Linked DNA regions of Homo sapiens: regions 1 and 2 are each linked to region 3. Evidence: promoter capture Hi-C in 16 types of primary human blood cells and fetal thymus (Javierre and others, 2016). All regions are on one chromosome and are shown on one strand. The core of a region is centred on a gene start or on the middle of the fragment in contact, and the rest is flanking DNA. Distances in the headings are between cores, read along the strand shown. Region 1 overlaps CROT (carnitine O-octanoyltransferase). Region 2 overlaps TP53TG1 (TP53 target 1). Region 3 holds the start of SLC25A40 (solute carrier family 25 member 40).

Evidence for each region. Contacts are between HindIII fragments. The CHiCAGO score rates a contact against its expected background, and 5 or more counts as called.
Region 1: a fragment that was not itself captured here is called in contact with the fragment with the promoter of SLC25A40 in region 3 in 9 of 17 cell types (non-activated CD4 T cells, fetal thymus, monocytes and 6 more); the score reaches 9.4 in non-activated CD4 T cells.
Region 2: a fragment that was not itself captured here is called in contact with the fragment with the promoter of SLC25A40 in region 3 in 4 of 17 cell types (neutrophils, naive CD8 T cells, naive CD4 T cells and 1 more); the score reaches 10.5 in neutrophils.

What each region holds. Positions count from the first base shown.
Region 1 is chr7:87,351,397-87,354,710 of GRCh38, forward strand. The region is part of intron 3 of CROT (carnitine O-octanoyltransferase); the gene reads left to right. Among named protein-coding and RNA genes, the nearest start is that of CROT, 7.4 kb to the left of the region's middle. The HindIII fragment of the contact is 7,253 bases long and covers 1-3,314 here.
Region 2 is chr7:87,334,243-87,337,271 of GRCh38, forward strand. The region is part of intron 2 of TP53TG1 (TP53 target 1); the gene reads right to left. Among named protein-coding and RNA genes, the nearest start is that of TP53TG1, 9.7 kb to the right of the region's middle. The HindIII fragment of the contact is 9,846 bases long and covers 1-3,029 here.
Region 3 is chr7:87,874,914-87,877,868 of GRCh38, forward strand. SLC25A40 (solute carrier family 25 member 40) reads right to left here and starts at 1,447. Exons shown (of 12, transcript NM_018843.4): 1 at 1,183-1,447. It overlaps DBF4 (DBF4-CDC7 kinase regulatory subunit), which reads left to right and starts at 1,580. Exons shown (of 12, transcript NM_006716.4): 1 at 1,580-1,865. The coding sequence starts at 1,820. RefSeq lists silencers at 840-1,289, 1,420-1,679 and enhancers at 1,043-1,552, 1,740-1,859. The HindIII fragment of the contact is 3,397 bases long and covers 23-2,955 here.

The DNA.
Region 1 (3,314 bases), core at 343-2,842, 520 kb before region 3:
GCCTATTTGATATGCCAAGGTAAGCCTGAGGTTGATGAAAGAGGTAATTCACTGCGTACCCAACAGTTTTTCTGGTTTAGAAGGGAGGCCGTAGTTTGTGCCCATTCTGTAAACAAATTAGCTCTAATATTATAATAGATCAAGTTTAATATTAAAACTAGTAATTTCATTTTGAGAGTAGTACTTATCCACTGGATGGATTCTTTTTTTGAAGAGAAGCCACAGGATTCTTTATTGGCTCACAAGAGTGTGCTGGAACAGTGGTCACCACGTTGAATGCCTGTGGGACTTTATGAGAGGCAGGTTTAATTTTGGATGAATGTACCCAAGTGTGTATTCCCTTACTCCACTAGAGGTACTTAGAAGCACTTGATAGGGTCCTCTCCACTTTGGAGAAAGTTGTCTATAGGAGGTCCTTCTTTCCAAGTCTTTAATATGACTAAGTCACCTGGTTGAACAGCAGAGTTATGAATATTTATGGAGGTGGTTCTGACACATGAATATTGAACAAACGTGCATGTAACATATGACTGTTTACCCTGCAATAGAGACTTAACCCTTGCCTTACGTGATCTTAGATTCTATTTATAATTTGGTATTTTATTGCCATAAAGAGTCTGTTTTGTCAATCTTATGATTTCTATTTTAATGCTAAGCTAGTCAGTTGTGACTGAATTCCAAGAAGAGGAAAGATATGGCAAGTCATGTCCAATCTCCCTGCTTCCCCTCATGGCCTGAATTAGTTTTCAGGTGTTTTGGATGCCCTTTGGCCAAGAAGAGGGTCCATTTTGTTGGGAAAGGGCTTAGAACTTTTAAAAACTTATTTATTTTAGTTTATAGTTCCCCTTTTTTTTGTTAAGGTATGCCATCAATGGCCAAGCTCTTATTTTGTCCAGTATTGATGTCAGGGTGGTGTGCTACCTGCCCTGGATCCATCATGTCCCTTGGTGGGACCACTATGGCCAAGGGACTTAAACAAAAGACTTATGGCCAATTAAACTTTCTAGGCCAGATGGGAATGGAGGTGGGCAGGCACTCCTTAACCTTAAAACCCCTTTTAAGCAACATAAGAGCCAAAAGCCAAATGGGACGGTTATAAAATTTGCTTATTTATAAATTCTATACATTAAGCTATTTTAATCTTGACTTGTAGCAATTAGCCATATAAAATACAACATTTTGTTCAGCTATAGAGGCAGTTTGCCTGACCTTGATTTGGAGGGTCTGAATTGATTTTATTCCCCACAACAAGCCCTTACAATCTCATGTGGTAGTCTCTGGGCCTGGAAGGACTAAATAGTTTCAAATTATAGAGGAAAACAAAACATAAGGAATTAATGTTTTAAACAAAAATGTCATAAGCCCTACCTAGTTATGAGAATGACATGAAAAGAAGCCCATACGTAGCCAAATACTTAAATTATTTAATATCAAGGCATAGAAAATTATATTCAGATATAGGCAAAATTATTAAATGAATCTTAATGTTTTGAATACAGGCCTGTCCCTATGTCTCTGTCTGTAGGTCTCATGAAAATAGTTTACTTTGATTGTCCAGGTCTAAAGACAAGGCTTTGATTAGCTTCAGCTTGCTATCAGATACTGGCAGGAGTCAGTGCCTTCTTTAGATGAGCTATATGTACTCAGGAGTCAAAGCCCTGTAACTGTAAGGCACAAGGATTAGTTAATAGCACTTGATAAGGACCCTTTTAAGGAACTAGAGGGAGTCCTTTAACGGATTTTTTTTCTTTTATTTTTCTTTTTTTTTTGAAACATGGTCTCGTTCCGTTGCCCAGGCTGGAGTGCATTGGTGCAATCTCAGCTCACTGCAACCTCTGCTCCCTGGGTTTAAGCAATTCTCCCAACTTAGCATCCTGAGTAGCTGGGATTACAGTCATGCACCACCATGCCCAGCTAACTTTTTGTAGTTTTAGTAGAGATGGGGTTTTGTCAAGTTGGCCAGGCTAGTCTCAAACTCCTGACCTCAAGTGATCCGCCTGCCTCCAGTTCCCAACATGCTGGGATTACAGGTGTGAGCCACTACGCCTGGCCCTTTAACTGATTCTTTTCTAGTATATATAATTATCAGGGTGGAGGTGGTATGTGTTAGGCCATTTTTGCATTGATATAAAGAAATACCTGAGGCTGGGTAATTTATTTTCAAAAAAGAAGTTTAATTGGCTCACAGTTCTGCAGGCTATACAGGAAGCATAGTGCTGGTATCGGCTTCTGGAAAGTCCTCAGGAACCTTACAATCATGGCAGAAGGTGAAGCAGGAGCAGGCACTTCACATGGTGACAACAAGAGCAAGAAAGAGAGAGTGACAGTGAGGAAGAGGTGCCACACACTTTTAAACAACCAGATCTGGTGTGAATCAGAGTGAGGGCTCACTTGTCACCAAGGGGACAGCCCAAGCCATTCTTGAGGGCTCTGCTCCCATGATCCAGCCACCTCCCACCAGGCCCCACCTCCAACACTGGGCGTTACATTTCAACATGAGATTTGGAGGGGACATCCAAACTATATTATGGTGATAATGGAGTTCATGGTGTGACTAAAAGCTGTAAAAAGATTCTACAGTCTTGTAGTGATTAATTTTTATAACTTTAATAAATCCCAGCAATAAGACTAAGTCAGAGACTTAATTTAGGATTTTGATTTTGAGGCTGTTTATTAAACATGTTAAAAGGCTGAAAACATTTGATCAAAACAGAAGCAGAGGTCATTGTAAAATAATAGTTACTCATTTAGCCAAAGTGATAATGAAAATGCTTTAGAAGCAATACAGAAGGTTACATGATGTAAAAACCTTAAGCCTTTTAAATCTTAGTTTTGGCAACCAAAAAAACCTAATAAAGACAGCATAGGAATTATACAATCTTGTTTCTTAAGACAGTTACCAAAAAGGCAAAGAAAAATTCTGCAGTGTGACTACTTCTGCTTATGGGAAGCCCATTTAGATAACCTGGACATCAAACCTGATGAAAAAAGTGCTTGGATTTAACTGGACCTAGGAAGAGTATATTCAAGGTTATGATTATAGCATAGGATTACCTCACTCTTAGGAACAGCATTAGTTTTTTGATTACATTGACAATTTAGATGTATTTTAAAAGCCAAAAGTACAGAATCAAGTTATACTAGAGGTAAACATTGCTTTTCTAGACCTTCAAGATAAAATATTTTAGCATTAGCTCATAACAACAGTAAAATTAGAACTGGAGAAAAAAAAAGTTGATGAGAAAGCTGAAGGAAAGAATTATCTCAGACCTCAAAAAAGCAAAAAGCAGTGAGACACAGTAAAAGCTGAACTT
Region 2 (3,029 bases), core at 39-2,538, 540 kb before region 3:
TTTTTATAATCAGGTTATTTGTATTTTTGCTGTTGATTTGTAAGAGTTTCTTTTCATATATTCTAGATATTAGAGCCTTATTTCAGTGGTCCTCAACCTTGTGGGAACCAAGAACTGGTTTCGTGGAAGACAATTTTTCCATGGGTCGGGGCTGGGGAGGATGGTTTCAGGATGAAACTGCTCCACCTCAGATCATCAGGCATTAGATTCTCTCTCATAAGGAGTGCACAACCTAGACCCCTTGCATGCACAGTTCACAATAGGGTTTGCACTCCTGTAAGAATCTAAAACAACCACTGTTCTGCCACGAGGCAGAGCTCAGGCAGTAATACTTGCTCCACTGCTTACCTCCTGCAGTGTGGCCAAGGTCCTAATGGGCCATGGACAGATACTGGTCCATGGCTTTGGGGTTGGAGACCCCTGTCTTATTTTATATATCATTAGAAAATATATATTTTCCCACTGTGTACGTATTTTTTTATTTTTAATTTTTGTGGGTAGGTGCATATAATTTATAGCATACATGAGAAATTTTGATACAGGCATTCAACGCCTAAAAATTACATCGGGGTAACTGGGGTATCCATCACCTCAAGCATTTATCATTTTTTTGTGTTACAAACATTCCAATTATACTCTTATTTTTTAATGTACGATATATTATTTGTTGACTGTAGTAACCTTGTTGTGTTATCAAATACTAGATATTATTCATCCTATCTGTGTTTGTACCCATTAACCATCCCCACTACTCCCTCACCCCTACTACCCTTACCTGCCTCTGATAACCATCCTTCTACTTTCTATCTCCATAAGTTCAACTGTTATAATTTTCAGCTCCCATGAATAAGTGAAAATATGGGAAGTTTGTCTTTCTGTGCCAGGCTTATTTCCCTTAACATAATGACCTCCAATTCCAATTCCATCCGTGTTGTTGCAGATGATGGGATCCTATTCTTTTTTATGGCTAAATAGTACTTCATTGTGTACCACATTTTTCAATCCATTCATCTGTTGATGGGCACTTAGGAAGCAATTTAAGTTGCTTCCAAATCTTAGCTATTGTGAATAGTGCTGCAATAAACATTGGATGCAGACATCTCTTTGATATACTGATTTCCTTTCTTTTGAGTATATACCTAGCAGTGAGATTGCTGGATCATATGGTATTTCTGTTTTTAATTTGAGGAACCTCCATACTATTCTCCATTGTGGCTGTACTAATTGACATTCCCACAAACAAGGTACAAGAGTTCCATTTTCTCCACATCCTTGCCAGCATTGGTTATTGCCTTTCTTTTGGGTAAAAGTCATTTAAAAATGTTTGTTAGGTGAAATAAAATATTAATTTATATTTGGTGGTAAAGGAAGACTAAAGAGATAATATATAAGCTGAGATCTGAAGGATAAATAAGTGTTGCCAGGTGGAGATGGTGGGAAGTGTCCTTGAAATAGATGGAAGAGCATGTTAAACATTTTGATTTTAAATTAGTGTATTTCAATTTTTAATGGCTATCTCCCTGTCTAGCCTGTGAGTTCCATGAGACTAGAAAGCATATCAGTCTTATTCTCTTAATTTATTTCCTGCACTTAGTACCATGATGGCAACAGTAATTATTGTTGAATGGGTGAACAAACAGGAAAATTAAAATGTACTATATTAGGGTATTTAACCAGGACAAAAACTTTCACTTGCTTATGGGCTTGTGACATTTATCTAGAACTACTAATATTCCTAATGCCTGAATGTCATTTCCAAAGTCTAGGTTTCACTTACCACAAATATGATACAACTCATTGATTTCATATTTTCTGAAAACACTTATGGTTCTGTATACTATTACTCCTTTTTTCCTCAGGAGCTACCAAATTTCGGTGTTCCAAAGCACTACCATGGTGTTTATCTGGTTCCTGGTGCCAGGTACTAGGCTTCCGCCTGTTGTTATAGCTTTCCCAACGCTCATTCTCACTGTCATACATCTGAACAAAGATTGCTTATGGATACATAGTACAATGTACAAACACACAATTATTGCTGTTCTGGGTTGGGCATTGTGTAATTTAAGAAGTAATCTAGCCAGACATAGTGGCTCATGCCAGTAATCTCAGCTCCTTGGGAGGCTGAGGTGGGAGGATTGCTTAAGTCTAGGGATTCAAGAACAGTGTGGATGACGTAGACCACGTCTCTACAATTTTTTTTTAAATTAACTAGGTATGGTGGCACATGCCTATAGTCCTAGCTACTCAAGAGGCTGAGGTGAGAGGATCACTTGAGCCAGAAGTTCAAGGCTGCAGTGAGCTATGTTTGTGCCACTGCATTCTAGCCTGGTGACAGAGCAAGGCCCTGCCTCTAAAATGTTTTTGAAAAGAAGCAATTAAGTAATAAAACTGTTTCCAAACTCAGCTCTGCCAGTGTGTGACCTGGAGGGAAATCACATCATTATTTGCCATTTCAACCATAAAATAAGGAAATATGCATTATAGTAACTTTTTTATGCTTTTATTTTAAGTTCAGGGGTACATGTTCAGGTATGTTACATGGGTAAACTTGTGTCATGTGGGTTTGTTGTAGAGATTATTTCATCACACAGGTATTAAGCCTAATATCATTAGTTATTATTCCTGATCCTCCCCCTGCCACCCCCCGCCATTCTCCAAAAGGTCCCAGTATGTGTTGTTCCCCTCTATGTGTCCATATGTTCTCATCATTTAGCTCCCACTTATAAGTGAGAACATGCAGTATTTGGTTTTCTGTTCCTGTGTTAGTTTGCTAAGGATAATGGCCTCCAGCTCTATCCATGTCCCTGCAAAGGACATGATCTTGGACATGATCTTGTTCTTTTTGGTGGCTGTATTGTTACAGAATTAACAACTTTACAGAATTAACAACTCAAATAGTAATAAACAAGATTTGATAAACTCCAAAGAATTTTACTTTTTTAATTGAGAAAGTTGAAAGAGATAATAAATAAAGTCTCTTCTATTTTTAACATTTTATAATTCTGGAATAGTCCAAAGTTCTCATGAGT
Region 3 (2,955 bases), core at 197-2,696:
TGGCAATTTCATTTCCTCCCAAAGCTTTAACTACATTCTATATTAGTGCTTCCCAACTTTTTAAATCTTTCTGTAAATATAAACATTTTGTGCTCTCTGTAGCTTATATTTTGAAAATAAGTTTTTTCCCATAGAAATTACAATATTGAATATGTTTGTTCAAACTACACTTCCTTCCACCACTCAAGATCTGTTAACCTCTAATGAATTGCCCCATGATTGACATCAATAGACCTTGATGCAGAAATATTTTATTGGAGAGATATCAAATCAATCTCTATTTCCTCTTCCCATGTCCACTTCTGCTAGACATTTCTCTCGAGTCATAAACATCTTTAACTGTCTAATAAGCATAGTTCCATGACTGTCGCCCCAGGCCCTTCAACATAAACCTGTCTAAAACCAAACTCTCATTTCCCTTAGCAAACCTGTTCTCTGCGTTCTCCAGCTAATCTTGTCACAACCCACCCTTGTCTATTCTTTAAGGTACCTACCTGCAAAACCGTAACGCTGATACTCTGACTTCCTTGAGCTACCAGGTAAAAAAATCAACCACTACAGGAGTGCCTATTATGGCCTGGAGTAGAGGAATGCAAAATAGTTCAAAATATCCTCTTCCTCCTGAAGAAACAGATTTTTTTTTTTTTTTGGAGAGGCATGTTCCAACTTATAAAATTAAAATATATTCACAAGCATTTTAATTTGATCTTTAATCTCTGTTTTACAGGAAAAAAAAATGAGATGTTACTTTCCACTCCTTCATTGTTGAAATAAACTTACACTCAACTAAAAGAAAACAGGTCTGAATACAATAAAAGTCAACAGGACAGCGCAAATAGCCAACTACCCAAGGACACAAAGTGACCTGGAGGCGTTCTGCGGTGGCGCTGCCGTCAAGGCCGGGGCCGCCTGGCCAGACCCTCCCTCAGACGCCCCCCGGGGCCGCCCTCACTCCCGCACGTCCCTCTGCAGCTGTCCTCAGCCGGTGGGGTCGGCAGTGACCGCGGGAAAACCCCGCTTGCTGTGCGACCCAGGGCGCGCTGAGCAGGGGCTGCGGCTGCCGCCGCTGTCCGGCTCCGGTTCCGGCCCCGGCCCCGGGCCCGGCCAGAGCTGAGTCCGGACTCAGCCAAAGCCCCTCGCCTTCAGCTTCCCAGACGTCCGACCAGTGGAAAATTAGCATACCTGGGGCAGAAGGCAGCTGCAGGGCCGGCAGTCCTGGCAAACCTAGAAGGCGGGAATAACCCTGGTGACGGGCGGGGCCGGGCTCCGGCGCTAACTGCATCCACTAGGTTTGGTCAACACAGAGCCGCGCCAACTCTCTGAGGCTGCGCCAAGACCTGAAGCGGCGGACCGAGAGCCCGGGTCTGAGACTGAGAGAGCAACGGAATGGAGGCGGGGTAGAGGCGGAAACACAACCTGCAGGGCCAGAGCGAGGCGCGAGAAGGACGGCGGCGTGAGGGGGCGGGGCGCGCAGCGCGAGAAGGCAGGCACGAGGGGCGAGCGCGAGGCGGGGCACGGCGCGTGGCGTGAGACGGGGCGGGGCGCGCGTATCGGCGCCGCGGCCGCGTGACGCGTTTTCAAATCTTCAACCGCCGCAGCCCACTCGTTTGTGCTTTGCGCCTTCCTCCTCCGCGCCTTGGAGCCGGATCCGGCCCCGGAAACCCGACCTGCAGACGCGGTACCTCTACTGCGTAGAGGCCGTAGCTGGCGGAAGGAGAGAGGCGGCCGTCCTGTCAACAGGCCGGGGGAAGCCGTGCTTTCGCGGCTGCCCGGTGCGACACTTTCTCCGGACCCAGCATGTAGGTGCCGGGCGACTGCCATGAACTCCGGAGCCATGAGGATCCACAGTAAAGGACATTTCCAGGGTAAGAAGCCCCTCCTCCGCCTGCAGTCCCTTTAATCCTTTCCTCCCCTCGTGGTTCCACCATTGATTCTTCAGACTTCTCCCGCCGGGTCCTCAGCTTCTTTTCTTCTGACCGGCCTCTGGGGTCTGAAGGAAGGAGCCCCCGTTCAGTGTTTTGCCTAAGAAGGAACGGATCCTGACCCGGCCCCTCGAGCGCTCTGCCGTTTACAGCGGCGGTCCCAGATTGATTCCCGGTCGTGCCTTCGGTTGAAAACTAGCAAACAATGTGCAGATCCGGGACCTCGCCGGGACTGCGGCGCTGTCTGCTCCCGGGCTCTCGCATATGCTAAGCCTCCGCCCGGGCCCTTGGAGGCGACGGACTGCATCCTCAATTTAAAGTCAGACGCGCTCGTGGCTTTTCGCTTCAGGATTAGATTGAGTGATTGTGGGTGGATTTTTGGTCTTACCCTTGAAAGTTTATTTTCCTTTCCTCATAAGTTGGGGGAAAGCATTGTATTTCAAACACCCCATTGCTGGTTTCAACATTACAAACAGGGAAACAAAAGCAAATTTCCATTTTCAGTCACTTTATTTGGTGAAACATTCCAGCACCTAAGTTTTTTGTACAGGTGTTTGTGTGTGTGTAGTAACTACCAATTTAAGAACAGATTGCGTTTGAAAAATTAATTTTTAAAGCAGTTGCTTGGATCTCAGATCTGTTTCTAATGAAAATAATGAAAGGTTTAGTTCTTCGTAATGGACCGTTAAGTTCTTAATACGTAGACAAATTGTATGTGAAATGGACCGTTTAGTTGTTAATATGCAGACAAACTTTATATGAAACTAAAACTTGAGCAGTCTGAAACCCTTGAGGACTAGGTTATTCTGCGTAACAGAGGATTCTTTCATCGCTAAATGAAGTTTAAACACCAGTTTTGAATGTTCAGCAGAATGGCAGATGCTCAATAAATAGTTGAGTATTAAATATCCCCATGGAGTTTACATCCTAAAAAAAGAAAATCTTTCAAAAGAGTTTTATATAGTTCCGTGCCTCAGGAATAAACACACGAATATTTCTTGCTGAGTCAACTATTATTTTACAATATGCGGTC